7 separate regions of the Homo sapiens genome follow, and regions 2, 3, 4, 5, 6 and 7 are each linked to region 1. Evidence: promoter capture Hi-C in 16 types of primary human blood cells and fetal thymus (Javierre and others, 2016). All regions are on one chromosome and are shown on one strand. Each heading gives the region's core, a stretch centred on a gene start or on the middle of the fragment in contact. The rest is flanking DNA. Distances are from core to core; before and after follow the strand shown.

Region 1 (4,210 bases), core at 769-3,268:
CAGAACTGGAAAACCAGATTTGGGAGTAATCCTCCCAGCAATGAGACATGAAAGAGTGCTGAGCGATAAACAAGGCGGCTAATGACTTAACTACATTTAAAGACAGAGTAGGAAAAGAGAATGAGGCCTCATTTTGCGGAAGCGAAGGCTGCCTGAGAGCCAGCTGCAGTAAACACTAAAGAAAAAGAACAATGACTGAGAAAAAGTAATCAGAAAGATCTAAGTAATTTTTAGGGCAGTAATGGCTTAAACTGGATTACAAGGGATTAAAAAGTGAGTAACGAGTAGGGCATACTGAACACTGAAAATTCTTATTTATAGAGAATAGCCTTACGAAACGGGTCCAATAACCCTCCCTACAATATACAACTTAATTAGTCATCACAGGAAGTGTTAAGGTGTATAATGGAAAAGCATCCATAAACTCAGTGGTGAAATAGCTATGAATTAAGTCCTGGCTCAACTTCACACCAGCTCTCTGACCCTGACAGTTTAACGTCTAATATAACCCTAGGATGCTAATATCATCTAACATTCACTTTTCATGAGGATTAAATAAGATGACAGCTTGCAATTTACAAAATGCATCTCTCTTGATTCTCACCAAAAACTATGAAGCTACTAAGGAAGATAAGGAAATTTAGGTTCAAGAAGTTCAGAAGTACCCAAAGTGTCCTTTAGTGGCAGAACCAAGGCTAAAATCAGACTTTCGTTATCTTTCTAACACACTCCCAAAATGTGCATTTATATTTCAAATTTATGAGGAACCAATTAACATTTTTGCTTTGTTTTTAAAATTTATTTTTGTAGAGATGGGGTCTTGCTATGCTGCGCAGGCTGGTCTTCAACTCCTGGCCTCAAGCGATGATCCTCCTGCCTTGGCTTCCCAAAGTCCTGGGATTACAGGTGCGAGCCACACTGCCCAGCCAATATTTTCTGTTTTAAGAACCATCGGTTCGTTCAAATTGCGTGTGTATATTTTAATGTACAAGGCTTGATTGGTAACTATAACCACTGTTTCAATTTACAGCTCTTCCCTGTCAAGAGTCTTAAACAGAGCATCTTTCTATAACCCTAAATCTCTGGCGTGCCACCACGGAAAATTATACTACTCAAGATAAAGCTGGTAATTAAAATAAAAACCAAAACTTGAACATAACATACAAGAACACACATACTAAAAGGTCCATCTTCTGAGTATTTTGTTTTCCTGAACTTAAGCTAAACGTTAAAAAAAAAAAGCACTTATCTATGAAACTAAGTTTGCTCAGCCAATCCCACCTTCTATTTGAAATAAAACAAAATGATTAAACTGCTACAATTAGAAATAACAGAAATCAGGCGGCTACAATTAGACATCTCGGCTACCAACCCAGCTATGCATCTAACAACACAGACCAAACAACCCTAACTTTTAAGTTTCAGACGCTAACCCTCTACCCTCGCCGGCTGGCATAAGAAACGTGTACATGAGGTCCAGTTTTAATGGTCTTCCACAGAGCAGAGGCTATGTTTCAATTTCTACTTTACTGTCTTACAGCAGCAAGGAGCACGGAGTGGCGGTCCACATAAAAACTCAAATGACATGACTGTAATGGGAAACCCTAAAAACCAAGGCTGTATCGCAATCACCAAGTAAACTTGAGCAAAGCGAGCCTGAAGAGGGAAACACAGGGCATGAGAGGACGGCAGGGAGACCGGCCTTGTGCGGACCCCCTCAGCTCAGGGTTCTGAGGCCTGCAGGAGCCCGGGGCAGCGCCATCACGGCGGTGACTCCTAAATAGGCTTCAGCAGATGGGGGAAGGGCGAAAGTGAAAGCCGCAGCTCTCTGGGGTTTTTACCCTCCGTTGAAAACGTAGGGCGAAAATCGCAGCTGCAAAGGGCCCGCGGCTCTGTGCGGTTCCATCCCCAAGTCTCTGCCAGGAGCCGAATACATGGCTGTAGAGGACAACATCGCACGGCTGCGCCTGCGGATCCGACACTTGCTGTCTCACGGCGAGATGGCTGCCTTGACCGGACGTTACGCCACTTCCGGCTTCTCCTGAAGTTCGCTCCCGGCCTCTCTATCTCACGCTAGTCGTTGCTCCTGGAGGGCTGCACGGCGGCTTGTCCCTTTGGTAGTTGAATCCCGCCCATTCCAAAAAGCGCTGACAGGGATGTAAAGGGTTTTTTTTGTTTGTTTTTTGTTTTTTTCCCCCTCGAAGAAAACATTGGAATTCACCCCAATGGACAAAAATTTAAGTCTGACCATACAAAAAAATTGTCAGAACTATGGCGCAACGGCAACTCGAATAACGGTGGGAACGTTAATTGTCCTGGCTAATAAAAAATGTATATAACATTTCCTATCCTTAAAGAGCTCACAACCTCACTGATAATAAAAAGTACAAAGAAAACAAGCAGTATAACATATGATTACGCCACAATGAACTACAGAAGGGAAAATCAAGGCGTGCTGAAGTCCCACTAAGAAACAACTGCGGAAAGAGCCATGTGACAACAGTGCATGAACTGGGAGTGGCAGAACTGAATATAAATGCATGTGTAAACACAAGCTGTTTGTTTTGCTTAGTGTTCCTTGTCATTCTACACGCTTGAAGATCAGCTAGCGTTCTTGCTGACAGGTAAGGAGGACGCGCTTACTGAGTGCCAAGCACTGCTCAGGCACTGATTCTGTCAATCTCTGTCAATCTCCCGACAGCCCAAGGGTAAGCACTGTTATCATTATTCAATTTTACAGAAAAAAAATGCGGGGGAGAGGTCAGGTAACTTGTCGAAGGTAACGCCGCTAGTTGCTTTAAACAACAACAACAACAACAACAAAACACACTCACACATATACACACACACGCCATTTAAAAATCGATCTTTCCTACGTCCAGCAAGGGCCAATTAGAGATGGCTGTGGCACGGCGGCCCCGCCCCGGAACTCCTCAAGAGCTTCGCCCCTCCTTACCTATGGAAACACAGGAAGTGACCTATGCTCACACTTCTCATGGCCTCGGCCCTAGTGGGAGCAACTCGCTGAAGCCGAGGGCAGAACTGGCGGAAGTGACATTATCAACGCGCGCCAGGGGTTCAGTGAGGTCGGGCAGGTTCGCTGTGGCGGGCGCCTGGGCCGCCGGCTGTTTAACTTCGCTTCCGCTGGCCCATAGTGATCTTTGCAGTGACCCAGGTAACAGATTGTACTCTTTTCTGACGGTTCGGGCGAAGGCCACCACTGCACTGAGGCCTGGGGGCAATGGTGGGGAAGAGACTAGGAATTGGCGCGCGTGCAGGCCCCTCGGGGGACGTTCCTCCCTTTCGTGCTGCCGCCGTTCCGGCCTGTAACGGCCACTCGGCCGCCACTCCCGCCTGGTGCCCTACTCTGCTGTGTTTCGCAGGCAGCTTCCCATCGTACGATTGTGGGGCTCAGGGTACTACTGGCTGGCTGGGCGGCGGCAGGCGGGACAGGACAGTCCCTTGCATCGAAGACCCTAAGTTTACCCTGCCCTGTCCTGCCATCCGCTTCTTCTCCATGTTAGAAGCAGATTCACCCAGATCTGTGCCCGCCTGTTTTGCTGCCAACATTGAGACTTAAATATTTTGTCAGAAGCCTGAGACAGCGGGCACGGTAGCGCTTAAGATATAATACACACCACTTTATTTGCAGGGTCTCCCGTCTCTCGGTTCAGGCCATCATGGTTTTCCAAATCTCTAGGTAGACTTTTCTGTGAAAAGACTGTGCTTCATTTAGTTATACAGACACTAGAAGGCTATGCAGAATTAATTTGATTGCCTCCAAAAAATATCGGATTTGATGTTTCAATTTCCAGGAGATGAAGATACCCAGCAAACAACTCTTTTCTGAGGATAAATTAGTGCAGTAATCACTGTGCGGTTTCTTCTGTAGACTTACTTGCAAAAAGTGGCCTGAAGCCACCGAAGGTCCTGGATAAATCTCTAATCATACTTATAATGGCTTTAAATCCTGCCGTCATTATCTCTTGCCTCAACCTTAGATTCCTGAAACGAAACTTCCGTCCTCCAGTTTTACTCCTCTCAAATTCATCTAGTCTTGCCAAATTAGATCTGTTCATACTGCACTTCCGAAATTCCATAACTGTTATTATTGCCTATGCAATAACATTGAAAACTCCTGATAGTATGAGCCCACCAATATGTGCTGTCTCATCTGCTGCAGTGACCTTCTATACAGTCATACTAAGCT
Region 2 (3,679 bases), core at 519-3,018, 790 kb before region 1:
TCTTCAGTCAGTCTGTGGTAAGCTTGTTCATCTAAACTCATGGAGTATATTAGTCCGTTTTCATGCTGCTGTTAAAGACATACCCAAGACTAGGAAGAGAAAGAGGTTTAATTGGACTTACGGTTTCACATGGCTGAGGAGGCCTCAGAATCATGGCAGGAGGAGAAAGACATTTCTAACAGGGCGGCAGCAAGGGAAAAATGAGGAAGAAGCAAAAGTGGAGACCCCTGATAAACCCATCAGATCTCATGAGACTTATTCACTATCATGAGAATAGCACGGGAAAGACCGGTCCCCATGATTCAGCTGTCTCCCCCTGCGTCCCTCCCACAACATGGGAGAATTCTGGAAGATACAATTCAAGTTGAGATTTGGGTGGGGACACAGCCAAACCATATCACGGAGTAAGTGCAAAACAACAATTCACATATGCTGAGCTTTTGTTCTTCCCAAACTGATGATGCTTTAGGGAAAAATTGTATCAGTGATTCAAGCATATTCTCCCTTCCCACCTTCCCTTTCAAAATTGCCCCTCCTCCAGCACATAGAAAGCTTTCCTATCCCGAGTGTGAATAACTCTGGGGCACCACAGGGCCAATGTGAAGCATGTTGCCTCGATCAATTACATATTAATAACTATAATACTAAATCCAGAATACAACTTTAACCCTTTAAATGAGTGATAATACAGTTTTATTTGAAAATTTTAACGTGAAATTATCTTTTGAAACCATTTAAACTTACAGTGGAAAAAAATTCAGATGTTAAAAAAATCATGCAGTTACTATACTATATTAAAATCTCATAAAGGGCACATGATCAAGAGACTTAGGACTAATGAATAACCTTAGGCAGCTGATTGAGGCAGGGTCAAGATGGAGAAACCCAGAAGAGCCTTGTGTGGAAGCTGTGCTTGCCAAGCCAGGGTGCTAGATGATTTTTGGAGTAAAGAAATCTGTCTTCAGTGGAGCTTTTCCATTCTTTTCTGTGGATCTTTACTCCTTGTCCGCTTAAAGATCATTTTCTTTTGTGGAGTGCATGGAATGAAGATAAAAAGTACAAACCTCTTGTTACACTGAATTCTCAAACACATTTTGTTTCTTCGATCTGTTCTTTGGTACTTGCTTATATGTGATGGGCCTTCTGCCCACTTGTGGCCCCTTCAGCTGCCAGGTCACTGGCATTTATACATCTGATTGACCAGATAGTGTGAACCATGAGTATTTCACAAATTATTGGTAGAGCAAAAAGATCTCCTGAAGTTGCATAGAAGAACTGCTTGTTAAATGTTCCAACATTCAGTAGAACTGCTCTTGATCATTTCCACCTCCTGGTTTTGGGTCTTCCCCTTGAGGGAAGTTCAGAATGCGTCCATATTCCCTTCTCAACAGCCATCTTTCACATGCATGAAGACAGTGTTCACTTCCTTCTCGAGTCTTCTGGAGGCTCAACCATACTTTCTCCTATGACATGAATTCTTTTAGTCTTTGAACATCTTCCATTATGTTCTGAGTTTCTTCTAAGTATGGCGCCTCAAACCCAAAGCAGTTCTCTGGGCATGACATGACTGCAGTCCATTTATTAGGACGCCTGGTTGGGTGTTTTCTTCACTCTGTAGATAGATGGTGGGGTGGATAAGTGATGGGCTTCACGTCAGACAGCTAGGAAGTGGAGGCTCAAGCCTGGAGCCATGCTGCTCGGGCATCTGCCCTGCTGCCTCTGTTTAACCACACAATTGCGTGCTGCTTAATACAGTGATATGTTTCTGCTTATCATATCATTGTCTTTTTACATTTTATTTAGATATTATGCACATTTGAAGCAACTTTATTAAAGCAGGATAACCTGGGTCAGATCTTATCCCCCATATTGATTTTGTAGCCTTTGAGACCTTGGTTTCACCTTTCCATGCTTGTATTTTTTTCACCTAGATGCTGGGGATAATCATAGTACCTTCCTCATAGGTTGTTCTTAGGATGAATGAGTTGATGTACATGTACAAAATGTGTCTAGCACATATTAAACACTCAGTAAATGTTGGTTTTATTATTACTGCTATATACTAGCCAAAACTGTTGACTCTCAGTTAAAAAGAGGAACACAAATGTTATCTTCATACTATATTGGTTTATTCAGTAATTCAGTATAATTAACTATGTAATGATTTGCGGATTAGATGAATGTGCTAAAAGTCTTCGTTGGCTCTCCGTGTGGTCTCAACCTGCGTAACGTCTTATGGCATGGGTTTGCGTCACCTGAAGAAATTCCTCCAAAGTAAGTTGCAAGTGAAGACATTTTCTTCCTTTTTTGGATCTACCAAAGAGTTTTTTAAATTTTGAATTTCATGAGAAGGAAATAGATTTTGTGAAAGATAAGTGAGTTTTGAGATAGGATTTTGAAGCTAAAATTGAATATTACTAGTGTAGTCACCAGAGTGATGACTGGGTTATAATTTCAGTGACTTACACCCCAAAGGCAATTCAGGGGTGACACCAGAAGGATGTTATGCCATTCACGTCCTGGGTGGGTGGGAGACCCTGAGTTTCATTAGGGTCTTCATCAGAGTGTCTGTGGTGCTGTTGTGCTGCCCAACTACTGCACAGTCTAATTCCTACATCGAGAGAATTTTGTGCAATTTTTTTTTTTGAGATAGAGTGTCACTCTGTCACCCACGCTGGAGTGCCATGATACATTCTCAGCTCATTACAACCTCCTCCTCCCAGGCTTAAGTGATCCTCCCGACTCAGCCTCCTGAGTAGCTGGGACTACAGGCACACGCCACTATGCCCACCTAACTTTTTTGTATGTTTTGTAGAGATAGGATTTCACCTTGTTGCCCACACTGGTCTCAGACTCCTGAGCTCAACTGATCTGCACGCCTCGGCCTCCCAGAGTTCTGGGATTACAGGCATGAGCCACCGTGATCGGACAGTTTCATGCAATTTAACTTTGCTTTCTTAATTTTAAATTTGTATTTTTCACAGTGAAGCTTTTTATAGGCATGATTGAGTACATTTTTGTAACAGATCTCTATGGTATTTCCTAGATACTGTTCAATGATGATACTGTTGACGGCAGGATTGGGTCAGTTACTGAAGAGTTACCTTCAAAACACTAAACTTACATTGGCACATCGCTCTTTCATATCTCTTACAAACCTCGAGGATTTGATTGTTTTTCCTGGTAAGTACTATGTTTCACATTTTTCCTTATAGCTTTGCGTAGATATTTGCAAAGTCAGTAAACAGCATTAAGAGGTGCACTCTTGAGGTGGGGTGAAGTAGTTGTTCTTCAGTAGTCGGATGGCTTTCAGAGTTGCTTGAAGAACCTCCTACATTTTACCACCCAAAGCCCTGCCTCCTCCCACCATGCCCTGGGGTTGTTGTGGGGGTCACAGGAGTTGCAGCTGTGTGAGCTGAGCTCTTTCTTCCTCAGATGCACTATGAGCAACAGTGGCCTCAGGCTGTTGTATGATGTACATTTTCTCCTCCTTTTACCTCTTGTGTCTTTGTACTCATGATCATTATGCCAGAAATACTTGTAGTAATATCAAGGGTCTTTTACACCTTCTGAAAATGTGTTTTACTTCTCTTGGTCATTGTGCTCAGTTGGTCCATCCTGAACTGTTGCCTAAGTCACTGAAGAGATGTCCATGCCCCACTTTCCAAGGGTCACCTGC
Region 3 (4,006 bases), core at 385-2,884, 880 kb before region 1:
CCAGCACACACGGCAACAACATGATCATCCAGGCTCAACTGTAAACACAGCACCTTTCCCAAAAGCGAGCCCATGACAGTCCCTCGAGGGACCAGCCCTAGAGTGAGTTTCACCATTAGTGCCAGTTTACCAAATGCATTCAGCATTACATTAATCTGAGAAAAGTACTGAGAATGTAACCCTCTATTCTAAAATTACTGAGAGAATGACAATGAGCTTTGATGTGATTTTGATTCTTTAAGAATATCAAAAATACTGGATATACAGAAGTCTTCTGAAAACCTGGGGAATGCAGCACTTCCCTGCAGAGACTCTCTCAGCATCGAAACACGAAGATGCCTTTCTCTGGAGGCTGCAGTACCTGTGCAGTGAGAATCATGCACATCAAACTGCATGTTTCGATGCTTCTCACCCACATCCAACCCCATGTCCACCCTCATGTATAGGTTCAGCTAACATTGATTGGAAGGAAAGGAGTAGGAGCCTATCCAACCCAGGCCTCCAGGGACTAAGCAATGACAGGACACCCACAAGCAGCCAGGAGGTTCCCAAGACCCGGACATGTGCAGCAGCTGCAGCCTGATGCAGAGCCCGTCATGCAAATCCACACAGGTGAAAGAAAAAATGGCAGGCAAGGTCATCTGGTCCTAGTGTGTACCATGGACCTATCACCAGCAAAATGCAGATATACTCCACCCAGAGCCTGTGAGAGACACATGTGCTCATGTCCCACAGCCACCAAGTCTAGACAGAGACACGTGCTCATGTCCCACAGGCACCCGGAGCCTAGAGAGACACACATGTTCATGTCCCACAGCCACCCAGTCTAGAGAGGGACACGTACTCATGTCCCTACATAGAATACATAGATTTATAGTCTCTTTGCATTTATGTTTTAATGTAATCCTCTAACTTCTCTATATAATTGCACAAAACTCAAATTCCTTAACGTGGTCCCCACCTAACTTTTCGACTTCCTCAGATGAGACTCTCCTAACATCAGCATGCTCCAAGCACACAGGCAGGTTCTCACTCTTCCCAGGGCCTTGGCACCTTCATCCCTTCTCACCCTCACCCTCAGCGCACATGCCCCTCCGAGATCCTGCTTCTCAAAGGCTCCCATGCATGTGCACGCTGCCCTGGCCTCATCTGCCTTCTCCTCTGCACACTCACAATTCACAGCCACTCAGTCGCTGGCTTACACAGTGTCTCTCTCAAACTCTGAGCTGTGACTTCCACAGGATTTGGGACCAAGCCCTTCCTATTCACCACTGTGTCTCCAGCCTGAAATATTACAGGTGCTCAAGACCCCTTGCTGTGCAAGGAAAGAATATTTCAACTTTCCTACATGTTTTCAGGTTGATACAAAATGGACAGTTCTTAAAATAAAAAGGGACATAAGATCAAAACCAATGAGCCTATAAGATCAGCATAACAGACAGCAAAGGTCCGTAAGTCTGAATGGCCTGGGGCCCTTCCCATATAAAGCGCCTGCTTGCATGCCTGGGTTCAAGGTAAAGAGAGTACAAAATTATCCCAAACCCCCCGAGGGACTGCTGTTACCCAAGGGAAACACCCCTTGGGTGGTACCAAGTATACTGAAGGATGAGTTATTCCTTTTGCAGGTTTTTAAAAACATGTTTTAGATTTTCATTTACCTTGAAGTACTTTCTCTCTACATTCATCCAGGTTCCACATTATAACATAATCCAGTGATGCTGAGCAGATTAGAAGTGGGTTCACTTTATTTCCAAAAGCCATAGCAGTAATTGGCTGATGGTGTCCTCGTAGGATTAGAAGCTGGGAAAATTAACAAAAATAAAACACAGATCACAGACATTTAAAAATAAGAGTATAACAACATAACTTCAAACCTAAGAAATTAAAAGATTGAGTTTTTCAAATACATTTATCTTACATATTCATTGTTAATTCATTTGTTAAAATCCCTGCTATGTACTACTAAATTATTCTCTCAAGTTAACCATTTCACTGCTATTCACTGTCACACACACTAATAAAAAGATACAGGCTACCTCGTTCTTCCATTTATCACTTATTAGTTAATCAAATATAGAACATGTCTCCACCACATGCCAGAAGAGGTAACAGCTGAGCTGAAAACTGAAGAATAAGGAGAGGAATGAGGGGAGCAATGAGGTCCCTGGGAAAACAAGGCATGGGTAAGAAACGGCTGGGACAAGCAAAGGAGTGAGAGGAGGCTGGAGAAAGGTGAGGCCCAGGTGTGGCGACCTTGGCAACTACACAAGGAATGTTGATAGCACTCTAGGAAATTAAAATCCAACAAAAAATGCACAGTCAGAATAATACAGTGACTAGATTTGTTTTCCAGGAACAAAACATTGCTACAAGTATGGAGCAGACGAGTGTTGGGGGTATACTGGGCTGGAGAGACAGAAGGGAATGCATGAAACACTCAAGGGAAATCCAATAAAGACCTGGACTAAGAAAGACAGTGATGATGGAGATGGAGAGGAGATGGTGACTGAAGATTCCGTGACCAATGGATATGGAGGGATGGAGGGAAAAACAAAAGCAAAGGGATAGGGTTTGAGGTTAAAAACCTAGGCGAACAATGTCTCAAGAACAAAATACAGAGGGAAAATGGGATGGGACTGGGGGTCCATAGTAAGCTGAGATGCTTATAAGGCGATGTTAAATAGACAACAGGCAGTTTAATATGAGAGATATCACTGGAGAATTCCACTTCTAGTAAAGGCAGGATACGTCACCTCATTAGTACCAATCCTACTGATGAGAATTACAAGAAAAACTGGACAAAATTAAATATATATATACACACACACACACTATATATATATACAAACACACACACATATACATATACACACAGAGAGACACACATTTTGAAGGCATCAGAAAGCAACTAGGTCGTTGAAGAATTATGGTAACAAGATTATATATAGGGCAGAAAAAAACTGAGGGAAGTGACCCCAGATGCTGGGGTCACTTGTCCCATAAAGATATCTACTATAAAGACAATTTTCTGACAATTCCACTAAAGGCAGCTGAGGAGCTGAGATTCAAGGGGCTACGGGCACAAAAATGGTGTAATTAAATGAGTCATCCTCAGGGACACAAACAGAACTATCATATTGGGAGAAGGGAAAAGATTTCTGTCATATTACAAAGTAATTTTGTGATACAGCTGATTGCCTTAATGTTGATAACTCTACAATTTTTTTCCGTAAAGAAATATGAATGGATTTTAAGTAAATGTCTGCCTAGAATACAATCTACTAAGGTGAGAGGGATGAGCATGCTGCTAAACCCCCTAGGCTTAGAATGGGAACCCCAAAAAAGACAAAACCCAAGGAGTAAAGATGAACTGGAAATAAAACAACCCTCATAAGAACTGACACCCAGTTATGAATTGACTTAACACCTGACTGGCTTAGGGTAATCTAGGACTGCCAGTGCCCTGAGCATGACTGGCTACCAGAAGCTAACATAAATCTGATTTGGAAGAATGTAAGAATCCAGAGTATCAAATCAGCTATACTTTTTTTTCATATACAAAATCCAGCAATCTAAAAAACAACCAGGTATTCAAGGAGACAAGACCATTTAGTCAAAAACAAAGAAAAATAAAGAATAGAGAAATGCGATGCCTACAAGTCATCCAGATAAGACTTGAAACCAAACTAAAACTGATCCAAATGTTAGAATTACTAGACAAGAACATTCAAACCATTATTAAAACATTTTCCATATGTTCAAAAGTTAAGTAGAGGCATAGAAGATATTTAAAAGTCCCAAACCTAACTTCTGGAGATGAAAACTAGAATAAGATAAAATTTTAAAAAACACTTAGTGGGATTAACTGCATATTAGATGTTGCTGAGGAAAAGATTGGTAAATTTAAAGACAAAGCAATAGAAGCTATATAAAAATGAAAGAGAGAAAAAATACATTCATAACCATGAAAGAGTATCAGTGAGCTGTGGGAAACTTCACGTGACCT
Region 4 (3,944 bases), core at 1,390-3,889, 830 kb before region 1:
TTCTTACATATGACACCAAAAGCACAAGCAACAAAAGAAAAAATAGATGAAAAATTTGGGCTTCATCAAAATTAAAAATTTTGTACAGGGACACTATCAAGACAGTGAAAAGACAACCCACAGAACAGGAGAAAATATGTGTAAATCATATTTTTGATGAAGTATTAATATATAAAATATATTTAAAAAGCTCCTACAACAAAAAAAACCCCAAATAAAAAATGGACAAAGAACTTGAATAGACATGTCTCCAAAGAAGCTATACAAATGGCCAAGCAGATGAAAAGATGTTCAATATCAGTAGGCATTATGAAAATGCAAATCAAAATCACAATAAAATATCACTCCACACCTTTTAGGGTAACTATTATTTTAAAAAATGAAAAATAACAAATTGGTGAGAAATATGAAGAAACTGGAAACTGTGAATTGCTGGTAGGAATGTAAATTGGTGTGCAGCCCCTATGGAAAACAGTTTGGCAGCTTCTCAAAAAATTAAACATAGGATTACCATATAATCCAGCTACTCCACTCCTAGATAAACATCCAAAAAAACTGAAAACACAAACTCTGAACACCAATGCTCACTGCAGCATTATTCACCTTGGCCAGAAGGTGGAAACCCAAATGCCCATCAACATCTGAATGGATAAACAAAATCAGTATATACATAAAATGGAGTATTATTCAGCCTTAAAAACAGAAAAAAAGTCTGACATATGCTACAAAGATGAACCTTGAAGATATTCAAAGTTCTAAGAGAAATAAGCCAGCCACAAAAGGACAAATATTTTATGGTTCCACTTATATGAAGTAACTAAGTAGTCGTATTCACGGAAATAGAAAGTAGAATGATGGTTGCAAGGCGCTAAATAGAGGGAGAAAGGGAGGTTATTGCTTAATGGTTATAAAGTTTGGGGTAGTGAAAGTTTTGGAAATGGATGGTGGTAATGGCTGCACAACACTGTGAATGTAACTGATGCCAATGAATTTCACACTTAAAAATTGTTAAAATGATTAATTTTATGTATGTATGTATTTTACTATCATAAAATTGCTTTTTAATTACACTCAGTAGCAAGACCAACTTTGATGGCACATTATAGAACAGGAAGAAAATATTCTACAATTTTTAATAATTGCCTTTGCCAGAGCTGGGGGAAAGGGAAGAGGATGTTAAGGCAAAGAGGAACATCACAAAAAATATTAATAACCGATAAAATGACAGTACCCAAGATCTTGACTTGAAGTTTCACAACTCCTAGAACTATCTCCTGAGCCCATTCGCCTCCTTTTGGATGGCTGGGTCCCATCATTTGAATTATCTTCATTATCATCCTATACATTTAAAAGATTCAAAAATAATAATTAGAGAAAGAATAAAAGAACAGTAAGTCTCAATAAATGAAAGACTGTCTAAGGACAACTAGTCATACAAGTATTAACTTCATATTATAATTAAAAGGGTCCAAGAGTTTGGCATGAGCAAGACCTGGAATAAAATTTAAAACTGATCTTCAATCCAATCCAAATAAGAACATTTTCAATGAACCCGTAAATGCAAATCTGCTTTGGTTTCTGCTCTTCATAAACATATCAAACTGCTGCATCACTCTAGGATTAAAGCAAACTCTCCTACCCAAGCTCAGGGGGAAAAAAATGTATGGATCATTTACAGTTCTCAATTCAACTTGAAGCCGGTTCATAGGACTATTTTAATTGACTACTTTAGGCATTTATGTCCCTGTGAAAAGGGGACATATGAGACCGAAAACAATTCTAACTATTCACTCTTCCTCTTACACTGCTAAAATTTAGCAAAAATATACCCTAATAAGGGTCATCAATCTATAATATAGCAGCACACACACCAAAAAAAGAAGCTTGAGAGGGGGAGGGGAATTTTTTTTTTAAAGAAGATTATATATTTTTAATGTAATCCATTATGTGGCAAGAACATCAAGGTTATAAATTCAACCATTTCATTCAGAAAAAGTATCAGATGTTAGGAAATTGATTTATTTACTTATTAGCCAAGGCTTAAAGTCTAAAAATCATAATTTTTTAATGTAATATAGCTTTCAACGCTAATCCAATTTTGCTAAATACTATAGTCCTCTTGCTACATATTAAAATGAAAGCAATCCTGCAAAAGAATATAAAGAGGCAATATGGTATAGTGGCCAGGCATGCCAGAGCTGGACGGCCTGGGTTCTCACTGGGCACTGTCCCTCACTAGCTGAGTAGGTTATTCTCTGTGAGCATCTCCTTATCCGAAAATTTGAGACTATAATAGTGCCCCATTACATGGCTAATTCAATGATTAAACGAGCTACTATATTAAAAGTACTTAGAACAAGGACTGGCGAGTTATCTGATAAATATTAGTTAAAATGATGATTATGATGATAATAAAGTCTCAAATGTCTCTAGCTCCTAGGAATTAACTGGTTCTTTTCCAAATAGTAAAATATATATTCTTTTTCAGTCCTTATAAAATAAGCATTTCATTAAAGAGCTTTGCATAGTCTAAATCTACTCTCTGAAAATTTGCATAAGTATCTGCATACAACTGCAACACTGCATATTCAATACTTTCAACATAACTCATTTTAAACATTCCAGTATTTTTTCTATTTTACTGGTGAGCATTTTAAGGATTTTTATATCCTTAAACTTAAAAACATTTTCCTTTAGCTAAAAAGTTGAGACACTCAAAAATATACAAAAATAAAGTTAAAAATGCAAAGTGCTCAAAAAAGCTGAGACTACAATTTCATCAAGTGTTTTAAATTACTACTACAAATTCTAGGCAAAGGCATTATTATATAAAGTGAGCATCTGGGCAGCGGGCCTTTTTCTTGAGGGAGGTAGTAACAGCAATATTGTTCCCAATACATGACGGAATAAGGTAAGAATTTCCGTGTAACCGCAATACTGATACAGAGGCCCATGTTTTCAAAGACTCCCAAACATACTAAATCAGAGATGTGCCTTCCAGAGTTACAGGTGGTTTCCAACTACAGATCAGATGAATTTCTATGCATCACATCCTTCCTAGGGCTCAGGGGTCAAGAATGCACTCAGGGGGCACTGGCTCAGTGCCCTCCAGGTGCCGGGCCAGACGTCAAATGCTGGAAGTGCAAGGATGTGCATTCAGAGTCTTACAATCTAGTTACTTCCATTGACGACAGCCTTTGAGGAACCTTCAAAATGAGTCTCACAGCACGGTGGACGTGCGCAACGGGAAAAGCTCCCAAGCAGGCGCAGCCCGGCTAGGCTGCTACAGGACGGCTTCCCCTGCCAACGCGCACACGGCACACCGCGCACCGCACGAAGGCTGGCTGGCTCTGCAGCATTCCAGTTCCCACCGCCTTCTAATTTCAATCCAATTTCAAGCTTCCAGGCTTTTAAAACATCATTCCTCCCTTCCAACTTTCTGTCACAAACTGCTAGCCTAACTTTAGAACCAAAACGTTTTGATGCGTGACACTACTGCTCATCTCCATTTTCTCCACAAGCACCAATTTCTTTTCACCTCCTCAAGCAGTAAAAAGTTTTAACAGACTTCCGCTGAAAACATCCGGACGCTTGCGTATTAACTTAGTTATTACAGTAAGTTCACTGAGTGTGTTGATTTTCCATATCGTTCGCCACTCGGTTTTTGCAGTAAGCGTTCAAACACTTCGGCAAACTATGCGCGGAATGAACGCTGAGCGAACGCGCGCTTCTGCAGGCCCCTCCGAGGCCAACTCTCTCGGCCCCGGGCGCGTTCCGTCCCACGGCTGGCCTAGGAGGAGGCGTTTTGGGGACAAGCTTGTCAAGCAGGGCCGGCTGCCAACTTCGGGGAAGCCGCGCCGCGTCCCCCGCCCGCCCGCACTTGTTGCTCGCTAGAGGCCGCGGGCTCACCTCGGGGCCCCGCCTCGCCGACCACCCCCGGTCTC
Region 5 (3,613 bases), core at 388-2,887, 780 kb before region 1:
CTAAAAATACAAAAATTAGCCGGGCGTGATGGCAGGTGCCTTGAGAAGTCTGAGGCCTCCTTGAGAATGCCTTAAGGAAAATACGGTCAGAAGGGGGTTGTCAACAGTGAAGTTGGGAAAACAGCCTTCTGGAGGTGTGGCTCGGAGGCAGAGCATCGGGCTGTGCTGGTCAGATGCCATTCCCCGTTGGCGCTGTGGACCAGCTTTACCAGTGGGGATGCCGTGCTTTCCAAGAGCAAGCCCTTACGAAGGTGGAGGTGGGCAGGTAGGGAGGAGGGAAGATTTAGGAAGGAAGAGGAGCTTCAAGAAGGCAGCCTTTGTCTTCTAACCAGAGCCACTGAGACTCCAGGCCATCCTCTGCTGTGCCCCATGGTGGCTATTTTGGGTACTTACCACTTCCTGTCCCCCTCCTGGCATCTCACAGGTATTCAGGCAGCTTTGCATCCTGGGCTTCCGTTATTCCTGCTGTTGATACCACCCACGCTCACTGGTGTCAGCAGCCACCGTTGTACTTGCTCATACGCTAGTGGGTTAGAAATGGGGAGCATCTGCCGAGGGATCTGTCTTGTGGCCTGACCTGGGCGTTGATGGCTGTGGTCCCCCAGGGCTTCGTGGGTGTCCCATCTGAGAAGGCTGGAAGTTGGCCAGGGGCTTCATGGGGGTCCTGCAGGGACAGTCCCAAGGTGACAGCTGCTGCACCTCGAGTGCGGCCTGAACTGGAGAGGCACCTGCACCTCTGACATGGCTTTGGATGCTGCACAGCATCGTCACACCTGCTGTGTTCTGTTGGTTCCAGGCCAGTCGCCAGAGCTCGTGCAGATTTGGTGGGGGCCTCCCTCTCAATGGCAGGTGTCCAAAGAACCTGTGGACATGGTCATAGCCACCCCAGACGTTCACTCCCTTCCAATCCACTGGTAGTTTCCGCAGCCTTCCCCCATCTGAATGTACTGAAGAACTGACACCCACCATCTGGTTTTAAAATGTTTAGAATTTGTAATAATTTACGTATTTTCTAGAGAGTGATGTAACATCCATAAAAACACAGATTTTCTAGGAAGTTACTGTGAAATCTACAAAAGCAATAAAACATTTCCTCCCAGGTGCTGAGCTGTGAGGAGAGCATCAGGGTTTGGGCTCTGCTGCCTTTCCCCGAAGAACTCACTCGGCAAGCCGTCAGGTGCGTGGCATCCTGGGGCCTGGCTGACCTCAAGCTTGTCTGGTACTATTAGTTTCAGCAGCATTTCTTCTTTAACGAGGCTGTGGGAAGATAAAAGGGGAAGGAGGAATTTCTGGGCCTTGGTGGCTGATGCAGGCTGTGGGGAGCTGGAAGTGTCGCTGAATGCGATCTTCCAACTGGCATGGGGCCCTGGTGGAGACTGAACATGGAACGAGAGGCAGGTTTTGTGGGTAGACAGTGGCGTCCATGAGAAGTACCCTGAGTAGATAGGAAGAAAGATGGGTCTGAAGCTCAGGAGAGAAGTAGGGATGGAGACATAAATTCTGGAATCGTAAACAACAGCAGACATCCTTGTTCAGCAGGAAGAATACGCAGGTGGTTCATCGTCTCGTCGTCACTGGACTTTGCTCTTGGCATATGGCATCGTTTGTTTCTCCACTGTATTGTCATGGTGGCTTTTTCCATTTTATATTTGAGGAAAGTGAGATTCACAGTCAGGTCGCTGCTCAGTGAACCATTGAACATTCTTGTGCACAGGCACTGATGTGAGCACTTTAATTGTCACGTATCTTTAAATATTTTCTGTTTTTCAGATTAGAAGATAATTCTGAAACAAATGCCTGCCACTCTTTGATTACAAAAATGACGGATGAGCTGTATCACCATATGCCTGAGAATCGTTGTGTGTTAAAGGACTTGGATCGTCTTCCTACTGAGACGTAAGTTCCAGGACATCCTGACAACTGTTGAAACATTGATTCAGCAGATTAGCATAGCAAACTTAGCATTTTCTATGTTTTAGATTTTATAAACTTGGTAGTAGTCTTAGAATCCCACTGTTACTGCTCCAGGAGGAATTATGAGATAAGTTTTGACAATCTCTGTGCAAGCTTGGCACATCTGATGAGGCTGTGAATGCCACATTCTGTTTGCCACAATTCAGTGTGTTTAGTTAACACTTGCCGCGTGTCACGGTTGTCCCTGCAGACCAACCAGCGATACGCCGCTAGCCCTGGCTCCCAGAAAGCCGCAGCCTTGCAGGTGCAGAAGGAGAGTGAGGCCCAGGTGAGGATCATGATGCCTGCTCCAAGTCTGGCTCTGTTTGCAGGTGGCCCCAGCTTCTCCGTGAGCTCTGCAGCACACCTGTTCCCACCCTGTTCTGCCCCAGGATTGTGCTGGAAGTGCTGGTTGTGCTCCGAAGCATCAGCGAACAGTGCCGCCGTGTGTCCAGCCAGGTCACCGTTGCCTCAGAGCTGAGACACAGGCAGTGGGTGGAAAGGACGCTGCGGTCTCGCCAGCGGCAGAACTACCTGCGTATGTGGAGTAGGTGCGCGCTCACTTTCCTGTTTTGGAGGGGCACTGTGGGGCAGGAAGTTGTCACAGATGCAGTTCTAGTCCTCACTTCCAGACACACACAGTAGCCCCTCACTGAACCCCATCGACAGGTGTTGATATACTTGGAGTCCACAACTGAGTGTGAACCCAAAGTATCTGAGACAGGTCTCAATCCAGTTAGAAAGTTTACTTTCCCAGGGTTAAGGACATGCTGTGACAGCCTCAGGAGGCCCTGACGGCATGTACCCCAGGTACTTGGGGCGAAGTTTGCTTTTACACATTTTAGGGAGACATAAGACATCAGTCCGCAGGTGTAAGGTGTACATTGGTTCCATCTGGAAAGGCGGGAAAATACAAAGGTGGGGGCCTTCCAGGTTATAGGTAGACAGGAGACAAAGGATTGCATTGTTTTGAGTCTTTGATGAGCCTTTCGGTGAATACACAATTTACTTGTGAGTGGGGGTAGAGGAATAGTCACTTAGACCTTAGTGTGGCTCAGTGAAGCTGCATTTTACATAGGGCAGAGGAAGCAATCATATAGGCATTTGTCTCAGGTGAGCTGGGGGATGACTTCCTGTCCCACACCTGGGAAGATCAGCTAGCAACTACATTGCCAGGGAGAAATTCAGCAGAACTCTTTCAGGGTAAAGATCTTGAGGCCCATGAGGAATTTCCTTGTGGACAAATTATGAGGGAGGTCTGTATGTAGCTTTTTTCTCTTTGTAGCCACCTTATTTAGGAATAAAATGGGAGGCAGGTTTGCCTGAGGCAGTTCCCAGCTTGGCTTTTCCCTTTGGCTTAGTGAGTTTGGGGTCCTGAGATTTATTTTCCTTTCATGATAGAAACAAAAGTTAAGTTCCCACAGCATGTTTCTGGTCATACAAATATTACCAAGCTTCTAAATGAAGACCCAAAACACTTACAATGTTAAACATTGAGGTATATATGAACTCTATGGACATTTAATAAAGATGAATTAAAAACAAGTGAGATAACCACTCAGTGTTTGGTGAGGCAGTGAGTGATGGCAGTCCAGGTGGTGGTTAAATGAGGCAATAATGTTTGCAGAGCAAGACCTCCCCAGGCCCGCCCCCCTTCCCC
Region 6 (3,860 bases), core at 72-2,571, 960 kb before region 1:
TGTCTACGCTCCATGTTCCTTATCCATTCCCCTGAGACGGACATTTAGGGTACTTCCACACTGTGGATACTGTGAAGAGTGCTGCAATGGCCATGGAAGCGCAGGTATCTCTTCCATATACGGATTTCAATTCTTTTGGACAAATACCCAGGAGTGAGATTGCTGGATCATGTGGATTCTACTTTTTGCTCTTTGAGGAAACAACACACATTTTCCGCAGTGGCTACCTCATTTTGCATTCCCACCGACTGTGCGGGAGCTCCCCTTTCTCCACATCCTCATCATCACCTGTCTTTCTGATATTCTAACAGGTGTGAGGTGGTGTCTCAATATGGTTTTGACTTGCATTTCCCTGATGATTGGTGATGTGAGCCCTTTTTTCCTGTACCCATTGGCCATCTGTATGTGTTCTTAAGCAAAATGTCTATTATTCAAGCTTCCTTTGGGCCATGATCTTCATCTGATAATTTCACCTACTGATGACATTTGCCTAAGTCAATTACTCCATCTGAGATTGAAGAGGGTGATTTTCTAATTCTGCCATTCATCCATTCTACTTGTCTGCAATTCTCTAAGAAATAACTTTCCCTTACCAAGTAGGGTATTTGGTTTACTTAAAATACAGTCCGAACAGGAAAGGCAGACAAATGTTTAATTATTTTCCTTTATAAGACACACTTCTGACTAAGGGACAGGTGCCCTAGTTACCTCCAAATGGGGACCAATGACATTTTATGTTTTTGTTTTTAGCTATAGCTTTTTGGGGGGAGCATTATCAAAAATGATGAGGGTTTAGATATACAATGTTGAAGTCAATCACAGTCATTACTCTTTGGATGGTCAGCTAGCCCTCCGCTGGCCAACAGAATACGGCACAGGTGTGGTGCTGCCCGCTGGTCTAACCAGCAGACAGTAGTGCATGCCTAAGGCAGCAGCAGCTTTAAGGCCTTGGGAATTGGCTGTTGCCTGTGGCCTTGTTATATGACTCCATTACCCTTTGATTTCTTTTCTCTTTGGCACAAGATGTCCCTGGCTCATCTTGTAAGTCTTCTGCCACAGACCTGGAACCAGCTCTCCACCCAGGGAGTTCTGGCTTCTATTAGTGGGGAACGGCATTTAGAGGTTGCAAAGAGGGTACTAAGGGTGATGGCTGGAATGTCACTGCTTCCAAGCACCTTCCGTGGCAGGAGCTAAGAAATACTGGTATTCGTGCACCAGTTGCACATGGTTTTAATTCGAAAGGCTTTCCAACAGAGGTTAACGGCTGACAGGGCAAGTTCTCCTCATCATCATGTTCTTTTTTCCGGGGGTATTTGGACCATTGTTACTTGTTTATTCTCCCAAGTAACTTTCAGTCTAACAGTACAGCTACAGAAAAACCTACTGGCATTTTGTTGTTGTTGTTGTTGGGGGAGTGTTAAATCTACACATTACCTACAGAGAACTGCCTTCTTTAGGAAACTAAATCTTCCTATCCAAGAACAAGTTAGGATTTTGCGTTTGTCCAGGTCTACACTTCTGGGGGAAAAAAATGTTCTTAATGCAGGTTTTGCAGAAATCTTGTTAATACCGGAATGGTTTATCCTTTTTGAGGCTATTCTCAATGAGTTCTCCTCTTCCACTATAACTTTTCAGAGGTTATTTTTTATATCTATAAAGACCATTGAATTCCATATATTAGTTTAAATACTACTACTAATCTTTCACTTAATTATTTTATTGTTCATATTGGCCACTAATTATCTTGGGTTTTCCAGATATGCAATCTTGTCACCTATGAATAATTTTAGCTGTTCTTTTCAGTGGTAATATCTGTTAAGTTGTCCTGTCTAATTTCAAGAGAAATACCTCCAATACCCTGTAAAATAGTCATGGAATTAATGAACATTCTGGCTCTGTTCCCAACCACAGAATGCCTCTAAAGTTTTCTCAGTAAGATGTCAGCTTTTGGGCTGAGATAAGCATTTTATCATTTGAAAGAGGCATTCATGGATTCCTCTTTTACCGGGTGTTTTAGCAGAAATGAATCCAGAATTTTATTGAAGCATCCAGGAACATGGTTATAAGAGTCCTCTTTTTGTATCAGTTAATATTATGAGGGAATTATTAGTGGATTTATTGATAGTGAATCATGCTTGCATTCTACGCATAAACCCCACTTGGACATGATAAATTATTGTTAATGCACTAATTCTATGTTCCTATTTAAGCTTTTCAATTGATATTCATAAATGAAATATAACTCCTTTCTGAAATTTCATCAAGTTTTCTATCAGTTATGGTTACTTCAAAAAGCAGTCTGATGTCTTCCTTATTTCTCTATGCTTTAAAACAGTTAAGTATCTTTGGGACTATTTGATGTTTAAGAGGTTGGTAAAATCCCCTGAGAAAGCACATGGGCCTGGTACTATTTCACAAGGAGTTCTTAGGAAACGTTCTCTATTTCTTCTACGAAAAGTGGCCTGTTAAATTTGTTTCTACTTTGGGGGCCAGTTTGATAAACTAAATTTCTGTGACTCAACCATTTGTATAGAGGCTTTCATATTAATTTGCACAAATTATGAGAAGCAGTCTCATGATTTTCAAAATCCTTCTGCTCCATGCTTCTGCCTCCTCCTCATTTCTTATTATAGATTAAGCTTTCTCTCTTTATAAAAAAAATTGCACTATTAAGTTTATTTTGTTGCTTGTGTTTTTAAAAAGCTAGTGTTTTGGCCAGGTATGGTGGCTCATGCCTGTAATCCCTGCACTTTGGGAGGCCAAGGTAGGTGGATCACTTGAGGTCAGGAGTTTGAGACCAGCCTGGCCAACATAGTGAAACCCCATCTCTACCAAAAATACAAAAACATAGCTGGGCGTGGTGGCGGGCGCCTGTAATCCCAGCTACTCAGGAGGCTGAGGCAGGAGAACCTCTTGAACCCGGGAGGCGGAGGTTACAGTGAGCTGAGATCGCGGCACTGAACTCCAACCTGGGCAACAGAGCAAGACTCTGTCTCAAAAAAACAAACAAACAAACAAACAAACAAAAAACAAAAAACACAACTAGTGTTTTAATTTATTTATTAATTCTACTGATTCTCTGTTTTCTAACTTATCACCTGCTTTTATCTCTATCCATTTATTTCTTCTGATTTACTTTGTTGTTCCCTGTCTGGCTTTTTAGGTAGATATTCATTTATTTTTTCCCTTTTAAAAACGTCTGTGATATAGGTATTTGGTGCTATAAATTTCCCTTCAAAAACTGGTTTATGGGTATTCCAGAGACACTGATATATCATGTTAGAAACAACATTATTTTCAAGAAATTCTACAATTTCCTATTTTGTTTGACACCTTTAAACCAAGAGTTGCTTAACAGATGGAATTTTAATATTTAGAAGCAAGAAATTTTTTGGTTTTTAAATTTGTACTTTGATTGCATTATAGTGAGAAAATGTTGATTTTTTGTTCTTATTTTAATGTATTGAGCTTTTCTCTGGATTCATTTATGGTCATTGTTCATAGATGTTTGATGTGCACTTGAAAATAAGACACTTTCCTTGCTGGCAGACAAACATTACTATGAATATCTACAAGATAATGCATTATCAATTATGATATAGAGGTTTCCTATAACCTTATAATTTCTGTGCACTTGACCTGCCAAGGACTGAGACAGATACGTTAGTCTCCATTATTAATGTGTGGCTACTTATTATTTGGTTCTTATTGTTTCCACCTTGTGAAATTTGTTTATTTTCTTCAAAATTAGATACTAACATATACTGTATTTTCATTGTGAATTTTAGTCTTTGGCATTATAAGTATCTTTGCCTCATAATTTTTTGGTTGAATTGTGTTTTGTGCGATACTAAAATCAT
Region 7 (3,925 bases), core at 1,039-3,538, 810 kb before region 1:
TTGTTTTCAGTTCTGGTTGTAATGATGAAAATCATACTGATTATCACAGGTATTGCTTGCCTCCCACAAGTGCACACCCTGCCTCCCTGCTAGAAGAGTCCCAATTTGTACACTGGATCCACAATTTTCTCCTTTTTTTTTTTTTTTTTTTTAAGAGATGGAGTCTTGCCATGTTGCTCAGGCTGGTCTCAAATTCCTGGGCTAGAGCAATCCTCCCACCCTGGCCTTCCCATGTGCTGGGATTATAGGAGTGAGCCACTGTGGCTGGCAAATAGCCACACTTTTCACATGATCTCACGCTTCAGAAAAGGTAGGCTCCAGCCCCAATCTTAAGGAGGGAATTACAACTGGTCTAGTCATAGGAACATGATTAAATTCTGTCAAGCAAAATGAATGTACGTGGAAGTCTGTGGGGAGAATGGGAAGTTGGAGAGAACCTGGATCCTTGATCAAATCCCTGGGAAATAAAATTTTCCTCATTTCTTTAAACAATTAATATGAATTTTCAGTTCTTGCATCTGAAAAAAAGATCCTAGAAGGCTCACAGAGCCTAACAGAGCCTAATAGATTAGTAAATTGACTACACACTTGTAAGCAGTTTGGCTGGAGCGGGAGGATATTAGGGAATTATGAAATATAATAACATCTTTCTTTCAAACTTGGTAATTCCTTTCAAAACAATGAATACAAAGTATTAAAATATCATTAGAAATTTCCAAAATCTATCTTAACATCTACTGAATTTGATACTTTACAAGGTTGCATTTTAATTTCCTGTAGCAAATTATCATTTTCTTAAATCTTACAAAAATGATATTTTCCCTATACTCTACTATAAGAATTTGTATATACATACATATATACACACACAGACACACATGCATACACCTTTTATACTACTTTGGCATAATATTATGTTAGTTAATATAACAGTAAGTATAAATATAAAAATCTGGCTTCTACTTTGTTGTTAAAATAATACAATTGAAAGGCCTCAAATGAGAATAAGAATATAGCAAATCAGAAATATTATGAGGTTTACAAATATGTAAATTTCATTTATTTTTGAAAAGTTCGGAAGTAAACAATCCTTAGTACCTGTAATGAGCTATTCATAATAAAGGGCAAACACCAAGACCAGTGCCACGTAGGATTCTGCTTCGTGTTTAGCTGCGACCCAGCTGTCCCATGCAATGTCCCAGATCCATCTGCTGGCAATCTGTGAGAGAAATTTTGTAAAGACCAACTTTAGATTGAACATATTAAGAAGTAATTTTCAAATCTACACTAGTTTTTTAAAAATGAATGCATCAGTATCTCAGAAATTATTTTTAAGATGTAATTTGTCTGGTTTTCCCTTTCATAAAGAGCCTGGAGAATGACGCTGCCCCAGCCCATCCTTCTTCTTTACCGGAGGCTGGCCTTTCTCTAAACAGAGAGAGGCTCCCTTAGCTGTGTTTCCAGGGCCAGGAGCAGAAGGCCCCTGGGAATGGGGATGTAGTGGCTCTGCATACAGTATGACTCTGCCATGTAGTCCATGATAAGGAAGTCTTCCCACCCTTTAAAGATTTTCAGCCAAAGAGGTTTGTCAGGGCCTTGCCTTGAAATGAAGAAATGGCAGTAACTATACAAGTAGGCTGTTACGGACAATTCTAACTCCTTTTCTCTGTGTACAAACCCATATGTGATCTGATTCCAGCCCACTTCTTTGTGGAGGATCTAAAATGGCCCCAATTTTTTTTTTTTTTTGAGACATAGTTTCACTCTTATTTCCCAGGCTAGAGTGTAATGGCGTGATCTCGGTTCACTGCAACCTCCACCTCCTGAGTTCAAGTGATTCTCCTGCCTCAGCCTCCTGAGTAGCTGGGATTACAGGTGCCTGCCACCACATCCAGCTAATTTTTGTATTTTTAGTAGAGATGGGGTTTCACCATGTTGACCAAGCTGCTTGAACTCCTGACCTCAGCTGATCCACCCGCATCAGCCTCCCAAAGTGCTGGGATTACAGACATGAGCTACCACGTCTGGCCGAAAAAGGCCCAAATTCTTTATGGCTTCTCCTATTAGGAAGTTGACTTTATGTCCCCACCCTGTGAATAAGTCTTGGCCTTGTGACTTGCTATGAGTTGTAAAATATGACACTGTGAAACTTCCAAGCAAGGCCTTCAGAGGTCTTGTAGCTTCTGCTCTCACACTCGTGGAACACTATGCTGAGACCCCCATGTTATGAAAGCCCACTCAACCTATTGGAGGATGCTGGCTCACATGCAGGAGAACCCAGGTGCCCAGGCCACAGCTAGCCCACCAGTCAGACAAGTGACAGAAGCCATCTTGGACCTGCAGGCCCAGGTAAGTCATTAGAGGGCTACAAGTGCATCAGTGAGACCAGCAGAAAAGCCAAGTAGCTGACCCAGGCTGAGCTGACTCACAGAAAGTAAGCAAATACATGGCTGTTGTTATAAGATACTCAGTTCTGGGGTGGTTTGTTATACAATAATATAAGCTGAAACATTCCCCCACTGCACATCATGCCACTATCTACTAGCTACTAGTCCAGCTACACTTGTTACATATCAAGCACTCCAAGTCATCCCTGCCTCAGGATCTTTGCACTTGAAGTTTTCTCTGCTTGGAACATTCTCCCTTCTCTTTGGTACAGCTGGTTCCTTCTTATCTGAACATCAGAGGGTTCTCCCTTCTCTAAACAATCCCAAGTAGCCACTCTGCTACTCTGTCATATCCCTACCTTAATGTTCTCTTTGTAGCACTTATCATCTACAACGTCCCTATTTCTTAAGTCTGTATGTCATATGTGGTGCAGCTTCTCTTCTCCATGGGAGCCAGGACGGTTCTTTCTTGCTGACTGGCGGTTCTCTCGCCAGTACCCCTCTGCCAGTCCAGGTCCCCCTCCCCATGCTTCATCATGCAGTCCACTCCTCTATGGAACCTCTACAGATTCTTCCAAACACAGCTTTTTCTCTCTTTTCTCTCCAACTCCCACATATTCCTTACCAACTCCTTACATAATTACACAGCCTAGTGATATTATCTCTTTATTAATAAATAATGTTTATAATTACCTTGCTGTTTATTGAGGGCTCTGTGCTGGTGATTATGTTAAGGATTTTAATACAGATAATTTCATTTAATCTTCACAACAGCTCTAGGAAGCCAGTTTTATCATCACCATTTTATAGATGAAGAAACTGTGCCAAGGCCACAGCCAGCAAGTGTGGCAGAGGCAATCTGACTCCAAAACCCAGGCTGTTTACATTATCCCTATCATTTTATTTCCCTGAATTCTAAATTGTGCTGCTTTATCTCCTTAAGTAGAGTAAAATCTCCTTGAGAATCATGGTCCGTGTTTTATCATTCCTTGATTTTCCTTAGTACCTAACACCTATTAGTGCCCAAAATAAATTTACTGGTTAACTTAAATGACATTAAACTGTCAAAATTGATATGATCAAGGAACAGAATAGCAGTGCAATTTAATAAATTAGTAGTACCAAATTGCTACTTCTAGGTTTGTACTTTTCTTTCTTTTTTTTTGAGTCTGTTGCCCAGGCTGGAGTGCAGTGGAGCGAACTCGGGCCACTGCAACCTCTGCTTCCCAGTCTCAAGTGAGTCTCCTGCCTTAGCCTCCCGAGTAGCTGGGAATACAGGCACCCACCACCATGCCCAGCTAATTTTTGTATTTTTAGTAGAGACGGGGTTTCACCATGTTAGCCAGGCTGGTCTCAAACTCCTGACCTCAGGTGATCCACCTGCCTCAGCCTCCCAAACTACTGGGATTACAGGCATGAGCCAACGAACCCAGCTGGTTTGTACTTTTCAAATAATTTACAGTGAAATAAATATACTTAACAACATGATACTTTCCTTCAAAAAGTACCTCAGAATCTATGGCATGCCCTTGAGTCAT

Evidence for each region. Contacts are between HindIII fragments. The CHiCAGO score rates a contact against its expected background, and 5 or more counts as called.
Region 2: a fragment that was not itself captured here is called in contact with the fragment with the promoter of PSMB1 in region 1 in 17 of 17 cell types (total CD8 T cells, monocytes, naive CD8 T cells and 14 more); the score reaches 39.1 in total CD8 T cells.
Region 3: a contact is called between a fragment that was not itself captured here and the fragment with the promoter of PSMB1 in region 1, in 1 of 17 cell types (M1 macrophages). The highest score is 5.8, in M1 macrophages.
Region 4: a fragment that was not itself captured here is called in contact with the fragment with the promoter of PSMB1 in region 1 in 17 of 17 cell types (naive CD4 T cells, total CD8 T cells, total CD4 T cells and 14 more); the score reaches 26.9 in naive CD4 T cells.
Region 5: a contact is called between a fragment that was not itself captured here and the fragment with the promoter of PSMB1 in region 1, in 16 of 17 cell types (M1 macrophages, naive CD4 T cells, total CD4 T cells and 13 more). The highest score is 14.8, in M1 macrophages.
Region 6: a fragment that was not itself captured here is called in contact with the fragment with the promoter of PSMB1 in region 1 in 1 of 17 cell types (total B cells); the score reaches 6.1 in total B cells.
Region 7: a contact is called between a fragment that was not itself captured here and the fragment with the promoter of PSMB1 in region 1, in 14 of 17 cell types (total CD4 T cells, naive CD4 T cells, monocytes and 11 more). The highest score is 19.0, in total CD4 T cells.

What each region holds. Positions count from the first base shown.
Region 1 is chr6:170,551,289-170,555,498 of GRCh38, forward strand. PSMB1 (proteasome 20S subunit beta 1) reads right to left here and starts at 2,019. Exons shown (of 6, transcript NM_002793.4): 1 at 1,842-2,019. The coding sequence starts at 1,954. It overlaps TBP (TATA-box binding protein), which reads left to right and starts at 3,081. Exons shown (of 8, transcript NM_003194.5): 1 at 3,081-3,175. RefSeq lists enhancers at 1,772-2,151, 2,962-3,351. The HindIII fragment of the contact is 7,721 bases long and covers 1-4,206 here.
Region 2 is chr6:169,756,792-169,760,470 of GRCh38, forward strand. It overlaps ERMARD (ER membrane associated RNA degradation), which reads left to right. Exons shown (of 18, transcript NM_018341.3): 5 at 1-17; 6 at 2,177-2,274; 7 at 3,047-3,183. Among named protein-coding and RNA genes, the nearest start is that of ERMARD, 7.0 kb to the left of the region's middle. The HindIII fragment of the contact is 2,437 bases long and covers 551-2,987 here.
Region 3 is chr6:169,670,597-169,674,602 of GRCh38, forward strand. WDR27 (WD repeat domain 27) reads right to left here. Exons shown (of 26, transcript NM_182552.5): 3 at 1,659-1,800; 4 at 1-97. Among named protein-coding and RNA genes, the nearest start is that of WDR27, 29 kb to the right of the region's middle. The HindIII fragment of the contact is 5,121 bases long and covers 1-4,006 here.
Region 4 is chr6:169,719,774-169,723,717 of GRCh38, forward strand. It overlaps PHF10 (PHD finger protein 10), which reads right to left. Exons shown (of 12, transcript NM_018288.4): 2 at 1,232-1,338. Among named protein-coding and RNA genes, the nearest start is that of PHF10, 2.8 kb to the right of the region's middle. RefSeq lists a silencer at 3,829-3,944. The HindIII fragment of the contact is 1,516 bases long and covers 1,882-3,397 here.
Region 5 is chr6:169,774,170-169,777,782 of GRCh38, forward strand. It overlaps ERMARD (ER membrane associated RNA degradation), which reads left to right. Exons shown (of 18, transcript NM_018341.3): 14 at 1,101-1,177; 15 at 1,771-1,896; 16 at 2,286-2,504. Among named protein-coding and RNA genes, the nearest start is that of LINC00574, 14 kb to the right of the region's middle. The HindIII fragment of the contact is 856 bases long and covers 1,210-2,065 here.
Region 6 is chr6:169,590,853-169,594,712 of GRCh38, forward strand. The region is part of intron 23 of WDR27 (WD repeat domain 27); the gene reads right to left. Among named protein-coding and RNA genes, the nearest start is that of WDR27, 110 kb to the right of the region's middle. The HindIII fragment of the contact is 1,774 bases long and covers 435-2,208 here.
Region 7 is chr6:169,739,077-169,743,001 of GRCh38, forward strand. DYNLT2 (dynein light chain Tctex-type 2) reads right to left here. Exons shown (of 4, transcript NM_174910.3): 4 at 1,033-1,219. The coding sequence ends at 1,109. Among named protein-coding and RNA genes, the nearest start is that of DYNLT2, 11 kb to the right of the region's middle. The HindIII fragment of the contact is 6,040 bases long and covers 1-3,925 here.